Regions from separate parts of the Homo sapiens genome. Here region 2 is linked to region 1. Evidence: promoter capture Hi-C in human tissues and cell types (Jung and others, 2019). All regions are on one chromosome and are shown on one strand. The core of a region is centred on a gene start or on the middle of the fragment in contact, and the rest is flanking DNA. Distances in the headings are between cores, read along the strand shown. Region 1 has its middle 160 kb from the start of TNFSF18. Region 2 holds the start of FASLG (Fas ligand).

What was found. The method cuts DNA at HindIII sites, captures the fragments that hold promoters and counts their contacts. A contact is called where the count stands out against the background at its distance.
Region 2: a contact is called between the fragment with the promoter of FASLG here and a fragment that was not itself captured in region 1, in 1 of the 25 tissues and cell types used here (pancreas).

Annotation. Positions count from the first base shown.
Region 1 is chr1:172,886,560-172,893,541 of GRCh38, forward strand. No RefSeq gene overlaps it. Among named protein-coding and RNA genes, the nearest start is that of TNFSF18, 160 kb to the right of the region's middle. The HindIII fragment of the contact is 4,383 bases long and covers 2,732-6,982 here.
Region 2 is chr1:172,655,659-172,661,975 of GRCh38, forward strand. It overlaps FASLG (Fas ligand), which reads left to right and starts at 3,445. Exons shown (of 4, transcript NM_000639.3): 1 at 3,445-3,891; 2 at 4,437-4,482. The coding sequence starts at 3,544. The HindIII fragment of the contact is 6,455 bases long and covers 1-5,768 here.

The DNA of each region.
Region 1 (6,982 bases), core at 3,673-6,172:
ATCATTCTATACTTGGTCCTTGTCATATTTTTAAATTAAATAAATGTGTTATTAATTCTCTGTTATTAATAATAATATTCATGAGTAAGTAACTTCTCTGTGCCTCTTTGGAGTGGCAATTTTGTTTGCCTTGTAAAGCTGTCTGTCTAACCTAGGAAAAACTGATCAAATGTGTACTGATTTAATAGTGAGGGAGTAGCAACAAAGAAATGCTAAATTTTTTAGAACTATGAATTTTGTCAAATAGCCCAGCCTCTTGGACTGTACTGTACTTCATTTTTTGAAATGAACATGATAATCTTGAGCTTATCAAAATGTTAGTGAGAAAAACTAATTGTGAAGTCAATTAAAATAGGGTCATTGAAAGATGATAGAGTCCATTCAGAGTGACTTAGGTTCAAAACCTGGGATTTGTCACCGACTGTGAGCATTTTGTCAAGTTACTTTACCTTTTCAGGCCTCAGTTTCCCTATATATAAGAAGAGAATAATGGCATCTATCTCAATCAAATATTGCTATTAAATGAAATAATTTATACAAATGCTTAGTATGTTGCTTTCCAGGGTAGGGTAAATGTTGTAAAGTATTACTATGTGTATTATTATAATATGTTATTAAGACTAATATTAAGAATAATAAATCATTTAGGCAGAAAATCATACAAGTACCCCAGCTCTATCAATTAAGATGCTTTGGCTGCAAGTAGCAGAAAATCAACTCAAAGTTTCTTTCTTATAAGAAGTCCAAAGGTGAAGGAGTTTCAGGGTTGGTTACACTAATGACTCAGAATTGTTATCAAGCACCCATGTTTACTCAGTCTTTCAGTTATGTTATCCTCAGAGTTTTCCTTGTTGTATAGGATAAATTCTTTTCAAGCCCAAGATGGCAGCTACAGTTCCAGGTATCACAATAGGTTGCAATGTCCATGGGCTGAGAAGGAAATGTCTTCGTCTTTGGTTCTTCCTTAAGAACAAAGATAACTCTTCCAAAAAGTCCCTAGGAGCCTTTTTGTCCATTTTCATAAGGCAAAATTGTGTCATATGCCCCTTCTTAATCCATAATTGACAAGGGAATTTGGATGAACCATGTTGGCTTAATGAAATTAATAAAGATTCACCTTTCTCCTTCAGGGATAGATAGATGCTCAGCCTCCATAAAGCAGCTAGTGTTCTAATATCTGAACACAATTGGGTTTCTAAGAGCACAAAAGGGAAGAAGAGATTTGGGTAGACAAGGTACAGAATTTACTACATCTGGGCTAGAGATTAGAGGACTCAGAGATGAGTAAAATGCCTTATCTTCAAGGAAATTCTAGTTTATTAATAATATTATTACTACAATTATCCATTCCATTAGTCCATTTGTGTTGCTATGAAGGAATACCTGAGGCTGAGTAATTTATAAAGAAAAGAGGTTTATATGGCTCACAGTTCTGCAGGCTGTACAACAGCATGGCATCAGCATCTGCTTCTGGTGAGGCCTCAGGAAAGTTATAATCATGGCAGAAGATGAAGCGGGGAGCTGGAGTATCACATGGCAATAGTGAGCGAGAGAGAGAGAGGTGCCAAAGTCTTCCCTTCCCAAAAGTTCCCCCAAAGTCTTAACTCATCCCATCATTAACTCAGTAGTCCAAAGTCTCATTTGAGACTCAAAGTAAGTTCCTCCAGCTATGAGCCTCTAAAATTAAAAAAAAACAAGTTATATATTTCCAAGACAAAACAATTGTATGTGCATTGGTAAAATAATCCCATTTCAAAAGGGAGAAATTGGACAAAAGAGAAGGACAACAGGCCCCACACAAGTCCAAAACCCAGCAGGGCAGACATTAAATCTTAAAGCTCTAATATCATCTTTGCCTCCATGTCCCACATCCTGGGCACACTGGTGCAGGGAGTAGGACATGGCCTTGGGCAGCTCTGCTCTTTGAGTTTGCCAGGTGCAGCCTCTATGGCTGCTTTCATGGGTTGGAGTCCAATGCCTGTGGCTTTTCCATACTCAGGATGCAAGCTACAGGTGGATCTACCATTCTGGGGTCTGGAAGGCAGTGGCCCCCTTCCCACAGCTCCACTAGGCAGTGCCTCAATTGGCACTCTGTGTGGGGCTGCAACCCCACATTTCCCCTAAGTACTGCCCTAATAGAGGCACTCTGGGGGCACCCTGCCCCTGAGGTAGGCTTCTGCTTGGACACAAAGCTTTCCAATATATCCTCTGAAATCTAGGTGGAAACTGGCAACCTTTCTTCACTCTTGTATTCTGGCACTTGCAGGCTTAACATTTCCTGGAAACCACCAAGGCTTATGGCTGAGCCTTCCATAGGGTTAGCCCGAGCTCTACCTGGGGCCGTTTGAGCCTTGGCTGTAGCATAAGCAGCCAGGAGGTGGGGAATGGCCTTCCAAGGTGGCACAGGGCAGCAGTGCCCTGAATCTGGCCACTGAAACCATTCTGTCTTCTGGGCTTGCAATGAGAGGGGCTACATTGAAGATCTTTTTCCCATTGTCTTGGCTATTAGCACTTGACTCCCTTTTAATCATGCAAATCTCTCTAACAAGTGGTTGCTTTGCAGGCCTCTTGAATTATTTCCTTGAAAACACTATTTCCTTCTTTACTACATGGTCAGACCACACATTTTCCAATTTTTTATGCTCTGCTTCCCTTTGAAATATAAGTTCCAACTTTAAGTCTTTCTTTTGCTCTTGTATCTGACTGTAGGCTGTTAGAAGTAACCACACCACTTCTAGAATGCTTTGCTGCTTAGAAATTTATTCCGCAAAATATCCTAGGTCATCACTCTTAAGTTCAGCCATCCCCCAAAACTGAAGGGCATGGACAAAATGCAGTCAAGTTCTTTGCTGGGGTGTAACATGGGTGACCTTTGCTCCATGGCTGATAACCTCCTTATTTCTATCTGAGATCTCATCAGTCTGGCCTTCATTGTCCATATTTGTATCAGCATTTTCTTACAACCACCTAACAATTCTCTAGGAAGTTTCAAACTTTCCCTCATCTTCCTTTCTTCTTCTGAGTTCTTCAAATTCTTCCAATCTCTGCCTGTTACCCAGTTCTAAAGCTGCTTCTACATTTTCAAGTCTCTTCATAGCAATGCCCCACTCATAAGTACCAATTTTTTGTGTTAGCCCATTTGCATTTCTATAAAGGAATACCTGAGACTGGGTAATTTATAAATAATGTAGGTTGATTTTGGCTGATGGTTCTGCAGGCTGTACAGGAAGCATGGCACCAGTGTCTGCTCCTAGTGATGGCCTCAGAAAGCTTACAATCATGGCAGAAGGCACAAGGGGAGCCAGTATGTCACATGGCAAGAGAGGGAGAAAGAGAGAGAGAGAGAGATAGGTGCCAGGCTCTTTCAAACAACCAGCTCCCACATGAACTCATTACTGCAGGAAGGTCATCAAGCCATTCATGAAGCCCCCCATGATCCAAACACCTCCCACCAGGCTGTATCTCCAAGATTAGGAATTACATTTAAACATGCGATTTGGAGATAACAAACATCCAAACTATATCATCCATGATAGCTAGTGCATTGCCCTATCAATGTCTTAAAAGCCATGGGTTTAAAAGAAAATGAGACATTAGCCAAGCTTGTTGACTTTCATAAAAACTCATCTCATTTCCCTAATTTGACCAAGACATTCTGTTTAGCCAGAACTTCTGATCTAACCAACCAAACTAGCTAAAAACAACAAAGAGAAATTTGTAAACTGTCCCCTAATGCTGGGAAGTTGTTACCAATACCTAGAAAAGTTATGTTTATCTTATCTGTAAAAAATAAAATTCATGTTGATTTGAAGCATCATTTATTGATATTCTTAACTGTTTTGAAGATGCACTCAAGTTCTATCTAGTGACTCAGACCTTCCAAGTTTCTGTCCACTCTGTGACACACTCTATCGGGGGGCATCTGAAAGTTTTGCAGAAAATAATAACGTAGATTTGGTTTTGTTTTGAAGAAACACCTCAGAAAATCTATTCTTGACTAGAGTTGAGGGTAAAACATACAATTTAAAGTGGTTTTAATCTTAGGATTTCATACTTGGTAGTAGGGTAGAGGGAGAAGTACCAAAGTCTGTATTTATTAAGTATATATTATTTGTTCATATGTCCTATGCTTATTCATTTAACAAATACACATCTAATAATCTAACATGCTGTATGTTTTAGTAGACAATTATAAACCCCACAAAGGAAAAGCTCTTCAAGGACCTTAATACAAACATATCATTATAATACAAAAAAACAAAATGATAAAACAATTCCTACTCTAGGACTTCTGCAGAAGGAAAACAAAAAGACAAAAAAATCAAGGTACACAACAAAAGAAGATAATGACAGGTACACACATAACATTACATTAGCACACACACATAGACACATATTCATCAAATATATATTGGGTCCTTGCTACACATAAGAAATTATGCTGAAAAGATACAAAAGTAGGCCGGGCGCGGTGGCTCACGCCTGTAATCCCAGCACTTTCAGAGGCCGAGGTGGGCGGATCATGAGGTCAGGAGATCGAGACCATCCTGGCTAACATGGAGAAGCCCCATCTCTACTAAAAAAATACAAAAACGTTAGCCGGGCGTGGTGGCAGGCACCTGTAGTCCCAGCTACTCAGAAGGCTGAGGCAGGAGAATGGCGTGAACCTGGGAAGTGGAGCTTGCAGTGAGCCAAGATCACGCCACTGCACTCCAGCCTGGGCGACAGAGCCAGATGCCATCTCAAAAAAAAAAAAAAAAAAAGAAAAGAAAAAAGATATAAAAGTAAAGAGACACATTCCTATGCTCAGAAAATTTATAAGATGCTAAGAGAGATAATAGGCACTCTCAAAGTATTACAAACTAAAAAGAAAGAGAACTAACAATTTCTAATAATGATAACAAACACATACATAGTGGTTATTGTCTCAGAAACTGCTCTAAGCACTTTACAAATATTAATTCATGTAAACTTTCCAAGCTTCCACTAAAGTAAGTAATATTATTATACCATGTTACAGAGGAGGAAACTGAGACACAGAAAACTTTGCCCAAGGTTGTGTAGCTAGAAAGTGGTAGAGCTGGGATTCTAACCCAGGAAATGTGACTCCAGAGTCTATGCTATACATGGTGATGCATGGTTATGTGTAAGGTAACTTCACAGGTTTTATATAGGAGAGAATAAAACATAGAATTTGGCATTATAAAAAAATAAAAAATATTATGAGACTTCAGATAAATGAGATATTATTTCTTGCTTGAGTGGTAAAATAATGCCTTTCTGGACAAGATAGTATTTGGAAATTATGGAGGATTTAGGCATGAAGTAATCAGGCAGGGACAGCCTTTGGGAGAGAGTAGGAGAGTTGGAAAAGCATTGAGTATATTAAGGAAATGAAGATTTTTTCCAGTTTAGTTGGAATATAGTTGTGTGTAGGAGATTAACTCAAGATAAGGCTGGAAAGTAGAATCCTAAACTGTTAGAACTGGCAGATGCCCTAAACATCATGTAGTGTTGCTCCTTGTTTTACTGACAAAGAAAATGAGGCCCAGAGATGGAATGACTGGGCATGATTCCAGTGGGGCTTTGGGTGGCATCTTCAGGACTGAAACTCTGCTCTTCCAACTCCCAGGCTAAGGGTTTTCATATTACACTGGATCAGATCATGGAGAGCCATATATATCTAAACAATGATAAAGTACTAAAGGATTTTGAGATAGGAAGGAGAAACTGGATTTGAATTCTAACTTCTTAACCTGCTAGTTGTTTAATTTGGGGTGGCGGGGGGGATGGGGATTTTACCTAACTTCTTTAAACTCAGTATCTTCATCTGTAAAATAGGTATGATAAAATGCCTAACTTGTAAGATTGCCACGACAAGTCAGTAAGATGCTTTGCACATAGTAGATGCTAAATAAATAGTAAAATCAATTTTTTTTCTTCTCCTTCTCTTTTCCTGTCTTTATTTTTTTTGGGGGGCGGGGTAAGCTTTCCATTCTTTCCATTCCTCCTCTTTCTCTTTTTCTTCCTCTATCAAATGGAAAGGTGAGGAAAGGCAGACATTGGCCCATTCCACCCCCACCTGCAGTGTGCTCCTCCTGTCCAGGATCTGCATTTCTTGGCCTGAAGGTTTCTAAGCCTTTGGGAGGATGCTTTACCTAGGTTTGTGTCAGGACAGAAGTCCCAGAATGTCTATTCACCCCCTAGAAGAGCCCTCAAACAATGACGGAAGAAATTTGGTGTATACATTCCTCCCTGGACACACAGTAAGATTCCTCTGTGGCAGCTCCCAGGCTGGTTCCTGGGGCTTTCCACAGGATTACTCTTTGGTCTGCTCCATTGTAGTAACCCTTGGTTGCTCCCCTTTCCTGTCTCACTTCTCCACTCCCCTGATGACTTTCCAAATAAACTATCAGTATGTGAATCTTTGTCTCAGTGTCTTCTTTTAGGGGATCCCATGCTAAGAAGGAATGGGTTCATAAATGATGGAACCAGGCTCTAGAAAATCAGGGAGGAATGAAAATAGAAGCATATATTGAGGGACTACTCCAGGGGAAGAGGAAGGATGTTTCACAGAGTTGGAAAGAGCAGTCTATTGATGGCCAAGCTAGCTGCCTTGCCTATGTCATCCTGCCCTCTCTGAGTTTTTCTTTTTTCATTCCAGGCCTAACCAACATAATCTCAGAATTCTCATTATCAGGTCTACTGGAAAATCCTGTATGGCAAGGCTGTTGGGCTGTCCTTTCCTTTCCAAGGCTGATGATATCTCTGGCTTTCTTGATAGCTGACTGAGGAGGAGGAAGCCACCAGTGCTAACATGCACTGTGATTCTGGGAAGAAGGGTATTCCCAAAGCACAGAGACACCAATAACTGTCATTTTCAGAATTACTGTGATGGTGCTGGTGGTGAAGGTAACCCAGAATAGTTGCCTGCATATTTAAAGGACAATGAGGTTTCTGGAACCATGGAGATGGGCCTGGG
Region 2 (6,317 bases), core at 2,195-4,694, 230 kb before region 1:
CTGGAAGTTCCTGTGGGAGTTTGAGATAGAAAAATCGAGAGGTACTAGTCTGAAATGGAGAGGCTCATCAGTTCAGGGTAGGATCTCAGAGAGATACTGGATGTCAAACGTGGACTTTGCACTTTCCCCTGCAACCTCTCTCCCTCTCTCCACTTTGTTTGTCCTTAATGGAAGAAGGTCGATTATATTAAGTCTACAGATGAATTATTTGGGGAAAGATTCACTAAATTTACAACATCTTTTGAGTGCCTACCTTGGTGCTAGGGACTATTCTAAGTGTATCAAATGCTTTGACTCATTTAATCCTCCCAACCCCCGTAAAGCAAGTACTATTATGATCATGCTTATTTTTATAAATGAGAAAACTGTGGCACCGAGGAGGGAAGGTGACCTGTCCAGTTCACACAGTTAATGAGCAGAAGAGCTGGGATTGGAAGTCACATAGTTTAACTCCAGAACCACCCACTCCCAACCATCATGCAACACCACCTCCCCATCCAGGATATGGTGTATTTTTCCCACTTATTTGAATCTTTGACATTTTCAGTAGAATTTTTATAATTTAAAAGATATGGGCCATGCACGGTGGCTCACGCCTGTAATCCCAGCACTTTGGGAGGCTGAGGCGGGCAGATCACGAGGTCAAGAGATCGAGACCATCCTGGCCAACATGGTGAAACCCCATCTCTACTAAAAATACAAAAATTAGCTGTGTGTGGTGGCATGTGCCTGTAGTCCCAGCTACTCGGGAGGCTAAGGCAGGAGAATCACTTGAACCCAGGAGGCAGATGTTGCAGTGAGCTGAGATCACGCCATTGCGTGCCAGCCTGGCGACAGAGTAAGACTCAATCTCAAAAAAATAAAAAATACATATATATGGTTCTGGACAATTTTTCTTACAGTTATTTTGGGATTTTCAAATAGTTTTTTTGTTGTCTATATGGTAGAATTCTTAAAATTACAATTTCTGATTATGAAATTTAAAGTTAGTTGAATTCATAACGATGAATAAAGTCACATGTGAGTTCAAAAGCTCGTTAACTCGTGCACTGTCTTGCTAGTCTCATCCCTTGCACTGTTTAAGAGTGGAGAGTGGGATGTGAGCAGGAGTGCCTGGTAAGGAGGCAGTAGGAGCTGACGCTAAAGAGCCTTGGGTAACGGTAAGAAGCTTGCCTTGCTCCTGAATCAAACCTTCCAACAGAAGGCAGGGAAGTGAGATCATTAGGTTTGTTTTTTAAAAAGCATTTTTCTTATAGCATTTTACTGGGTGATTTGGGCTTGGGAAAGGTCGGTGGCAGGGCACCTGTTAGGGCATTATTGCAGTATTTCAAGTGAGAGATAAAGTCTGACCCCAGGCAACAGCAGTAAGAAAAATGGGAGTAGCGAGGATGGGGCAGGGGGGCAGTACACTGAGGGGAGGGTAAGGAACAGGTCTCAGGTAAAAGCGACAGTCCTGGGTGACCAGTTAAACGTTGGGGGAGAGGAAAAGAAAGGAGATGAAGTTGCCACCAGAAAGAGTGGCCTCAGGAGAAAGGGGTTGTACAGGGTTGGGGATGGGGTGGGATGGGCAGAATGTATCAGAGAAATAGTACCCTTGGGGTTGGTGTGGTACAGGTGAGTGGGCCTGAATGATAGTAATGGAAATCCCAAAGCATGATATAAAAACTAACGAAATTTGAAAAGTAATAAACATGAAAAAAATGAAAAATTTTGATTTATGGGGGATTTATTTGGCTTCTATTGGAGAATGATTAGGACTGAAGCTAACTACTTGGAAGTTATTGGCATATAAATGGTATGTGAGGCCAGAGGAAATGGTGAGATGAGCCCAAGTAGAGAGGCCAGCTTTAAACAACAACAACAACTACCAAAAAAAAAAAAAAAAAAAAAAAAGCAAAACAAAGAAATAGGACACAGAGTTAGATTTGAATGTCAGATATATGATGAATAATTGTTTAGTATATTCCATGTTTGGACATGTTTAAGACCTACTTGTCCTAAAAATAATGTATTATTTATCTGAAATTCAAATTTAACTGGGCACCATGTATTTCATCTGGCAACCATAACAGGGGCAGCACACAGAAATGTTGGCAGGGACCAGGCAGGCCTTTCAGATAGTGAGGTGGTGTGTGAGACACAGGCCAGTGGTGGAGGCTGGGTGACCCAGAACTCCTGTCTCTCATTCTCAGGGGCAGCTGCTACATACTTCCCACTGATTGGGTTTGCAGAGATGGCCTCGAGGGTGTCTGATATTCTGATATTTCAAAACAGAATAGAAATATGTATTTTAATGTGTATTTAATATATATATTTTAAAATATTTTTAATGTTGATATTAAAAGTGGTCAGTTGGGCTCAGTGCAGTGGCTCATGCCTGTAATTCCAGCACTTTGGGAAACTGAGGCAGGAGGATGTCTTGAAGCTAGGAGTTTGAGACAAGCCTGGGCAACATAGCAAGTCCCCATCTGTACAAAAAAAAAAAAGAATAAATTAGTCAGGTGTAGTGACTTATGCCTATAATCCCAGCTACTCAGGAGGCCAAGGCAAGAGGATTGCTTGAGCCCAGGAGTTTGAGGCTGCAGTTAACTACGATAGCACCACTGCACTCCAGCCTGGGTGACAGAGTGAGACTCTGTCTCTATTTAAATAAATAAGTAAATAAATAAACTGGGCAAACAATGAAAATGAAAACATTGCGAAATACAAAGCAGCTCTGTGGGTTCCACTGGTTTGCAGCCTCTGATCTAATTTCTAAAGTGGGTGTAGCAGGTTTTTAACCTGTAAATTATGGTGATCGGCAGGTCAGGGTAAATGGTAGTTGTGTGTGGGGAAGAGATGATGGCAACAGATGTTTTCCTCCTGCAAAAACTAAAATGTGGGAGTGACTTCTCTGGCCATGACTCCATGGTCTCTCCCCTCAGAGCCATTTTCAGTAAAATTTTTATAGTTTAAAAAATACGGTTCTGAACAATTTTTGTTAGAGTTATTTTGGGATTTTTAAATAGTTTTTTGGTTGTGTATATGGTAGAATTCTTAAAATTATACAATTATAATGTATAAAAAAGCATGCAATTATAATTCATAAAATTATAGCCCCACTGACCATTCTCCTGTAGCTGGGAGCAGTTCACACTAACAGGGCTATACCCCCATGCTGACCTGCTCTGCAGGATCCCAGGAAGGTGAGCATAGCCTACTAACCTGTTTGGGTAGCACAGCGACAGCAACTGAGGCCTTGAAGGCTGTTATCAGAAAATTGTGGGCGGAAACTTCCAGGGGTTTGCTCTGAGCTTCTTGAGGCTTCTCAGCTTCAGCTGCAAAGTGAGTGGGTGTTTCTTTGAGAAGCAGAATCAGAGAGAGAGAGATAGAGAAAGAGAAAGACAGAGGTGTTTCCCTTAGCTATGGAAACTCTATAAGAGAGATCCAGCTTGCCTCCTCTTGAGCAGTCAGCAACAGGGTCCCGTCCTTGACACCTCAGCCTCTACAGGACTGAGAAGAAGTAAAACCGTTTGCTGGGGCTGGCCTGACTCACCAGCTGCCATGCAGCAGCCCTTCAATTACCCATATCCCCAGATCTACTGGGTGGACAGCAGTGCCAGCTCTCCCTGGGCCCCTCCAGGCACAGTTCTTCCCTGTCCAACCTCTGTGCCCAGAAGGCCTGGTCAAAGGAGGCCACCACCACCACCGCCACCGCCACCACTACCACCTCCGCCGCCGCCGCCACCACTGCCTCCACTACCGCTGCCACCCCTGAAGAAGAGAGGGAACCACAGCACAGGCCTGTGTCTCCTTGTGATGTTTTTCATGGTTCTGGTTGCCTTGGTAGGATTGGGCCTGGGGATGTTTCAGCTCTTCCACCTACAGAAGGAGCTGGCAGAACTCCGAGAGGTAAGCCTGCCGGCAGACTGCTGTGCCCTGGAGGCACCAGGCATAAGGGGATGGAGGGCCCACTGCCTGGCTTGCAAAGTGCTTTTCAATCCTTTTTTTTTTTTTCTTAGAAATGGGTTGTTCTAGTTATTCTATTCTATAGACAGAGAAATGGAGGCTCATAGGGGTGAAGGGAATATTTTTTACTTTGTAAAGAATCAGAGCCCAACAGTTTGTCTTTCCTCAGTTGTCAACTCAGTCTGTTGAACCACTTACTGCCTCATACCTATTGATTTAAGGAGTAAAAAACAAACAAACAAAACTTTTAAGTTTTGCTTGGAAGTAAATTTGTTCAGATGACCAAACTAAATCTTGAAAATTGGTACGATTCCAAATCACAAAACTGAGGGACAGTGAGGCAAAATTGCTTGGCCAAAGCCCAAGTTAGCAGAACTTCTGAGGTATTTGGATTCTCTTTCCAGGGCTTGGTTTATTTGACGATTCTGCCTCTTTTGCTTAAAGAATTTTATTTTTATTATACATCTTTTCTCTTTCTGTTTTACTAGTCTACCAGCCAGATGCACACAGCATCATCTTTGGAGAAGCAAATAGGTGAGTCTTTTTTCGCATGTACATTGAGTTCCCAAAGATGATCCTCAGCACAGAACTATGTTAATGGAATGCCTTAAATTCTGTCCCACACTTTGGTTTCTGTACACTATAAGAGGAATTCTGGCTAATTCAGAATCTCTGGTCTATGATTCCTTGAGCTGCTTTAAAAATGTGAAGTGAATTGAATTGCTCACAATCAATATAGCTGAGCACTGCACACAATTCAAAATCACTTCCACTTGACTTTGGAAAGAGACACACATATACAACCCTGGACCTTTGCCCCCTGAGAAGTGGCTCCAGGCCTGTCCCCTTCCACAGACATCCTGGTCCTGGCACACACGCCAGTGGCTGTAACTCCTGGGAAGAGAAGGCGAAATGAAGGCAGAGACAGATGTTTCTGAGAAACGTCCTTTCCTCTTTTAAATGCCCTAAAGAGATTACATTGAAGCTTTATTTACAATATGTTTTATAGGATGTAAGCTTTTAAAACATGGATAATCAATTCCCCACATTAGAATGGTTTTTCTTGAAGTCACTGAGAAGCTTAAGGGAAGACTTCAGCCATCATTCAAAGGATGTTCAGCTTCACCCACAGAGGCAGTCATGAGGTACCCTTGATCACAAAGGAAAATCCTTTGTATGGGAGCTAGGGCAAGAAGATGATAGGTTGAACACTGATCTCATGAAATTTCAGGGCATAGTTGTGCAAGCTCTGTACAGATAGATTTTACAGTGTGCTTCACTAGTCTAAGATTCATTGAAATTTTAGATTTAGATTTACAATGAGATTCATTGAATTTTTAGAGGTGGAAGGAAGCTTAGAATATATCTAGTCCAGCCATTTCATTTTTTGGAAGAGAAACAAAATACCAGATGGATTAGGTGAATATGCCCAAGACCACTGGTATGCCATTGGGGCTAGAAGGAACACAGGCTCTTGATGCCTTGTCACCTACAGGGCTTTCCAGTACTGGACTGGTGCCTCATGAAGGAGGGAAACTCCTGTCTCTCTGTAGTGAGCATGGAATAAGAAATAGATGAAAAGCAGGATACCTCTGCAAAGACTATAGGTAGATCTCATCCTTAGAAACTCAGAATAAAGAAGAAGGCAGCACTGGCCATCTATTAAGTGAAGCAAGTTCCAGTTTCTCCGGATGTGGCTACTGCACATGACCCAGTCGCCTGTCTACTATCCTAGACTGTTAAGTTCTTATATGAGCCACTGTTGGGATGCTCTGGCCCCTGCTTCTGTGTCCTAATCCTTAAATGTTAGAAAGTCCATATGTACACAAGCAGAGTGGAAATATTTGATAGAAAAGTAAAGCCTCTGGAGGACGTCTGAAATAAGATCATTTTGAAAATCTGTGGAATGTGCCTGGTCTGATAGGTATCTAATTATTCATCTTTCACCCACTCTCTGGAGTCAATTTAGTGATTAAAAGTCAAATGATCAGGTGAGTCAGATCCATCTACCCCAGTAAGCAATTATGTTCTCTAGATCAACCCAAATAAACCAGAAATTGGTAAATCATCACATGGAAATCAAATCAGTAACTTTACTAATAAGAAAAGAGATGCAAATTAAAAATAGGGAATACCAATTTTCATCAAATTAATAAAGATTAAAAAAAAACCCAGACTGACAAAGATTTGAGAGAAAAGTGCCTGTGCAAACATTAGTTTCAGCCAGTATACATGTAAATTGCTATAACTTTTTTTGAAGAGCGCTTTAGAAATACATAGCAAAAGCTTGTAACTAGTAGTTTACGTTGTAATCCTATCGCTAAGAATTTATCTTAAGAAAATAATCAGAGATGTGCCCGAAGATTTAT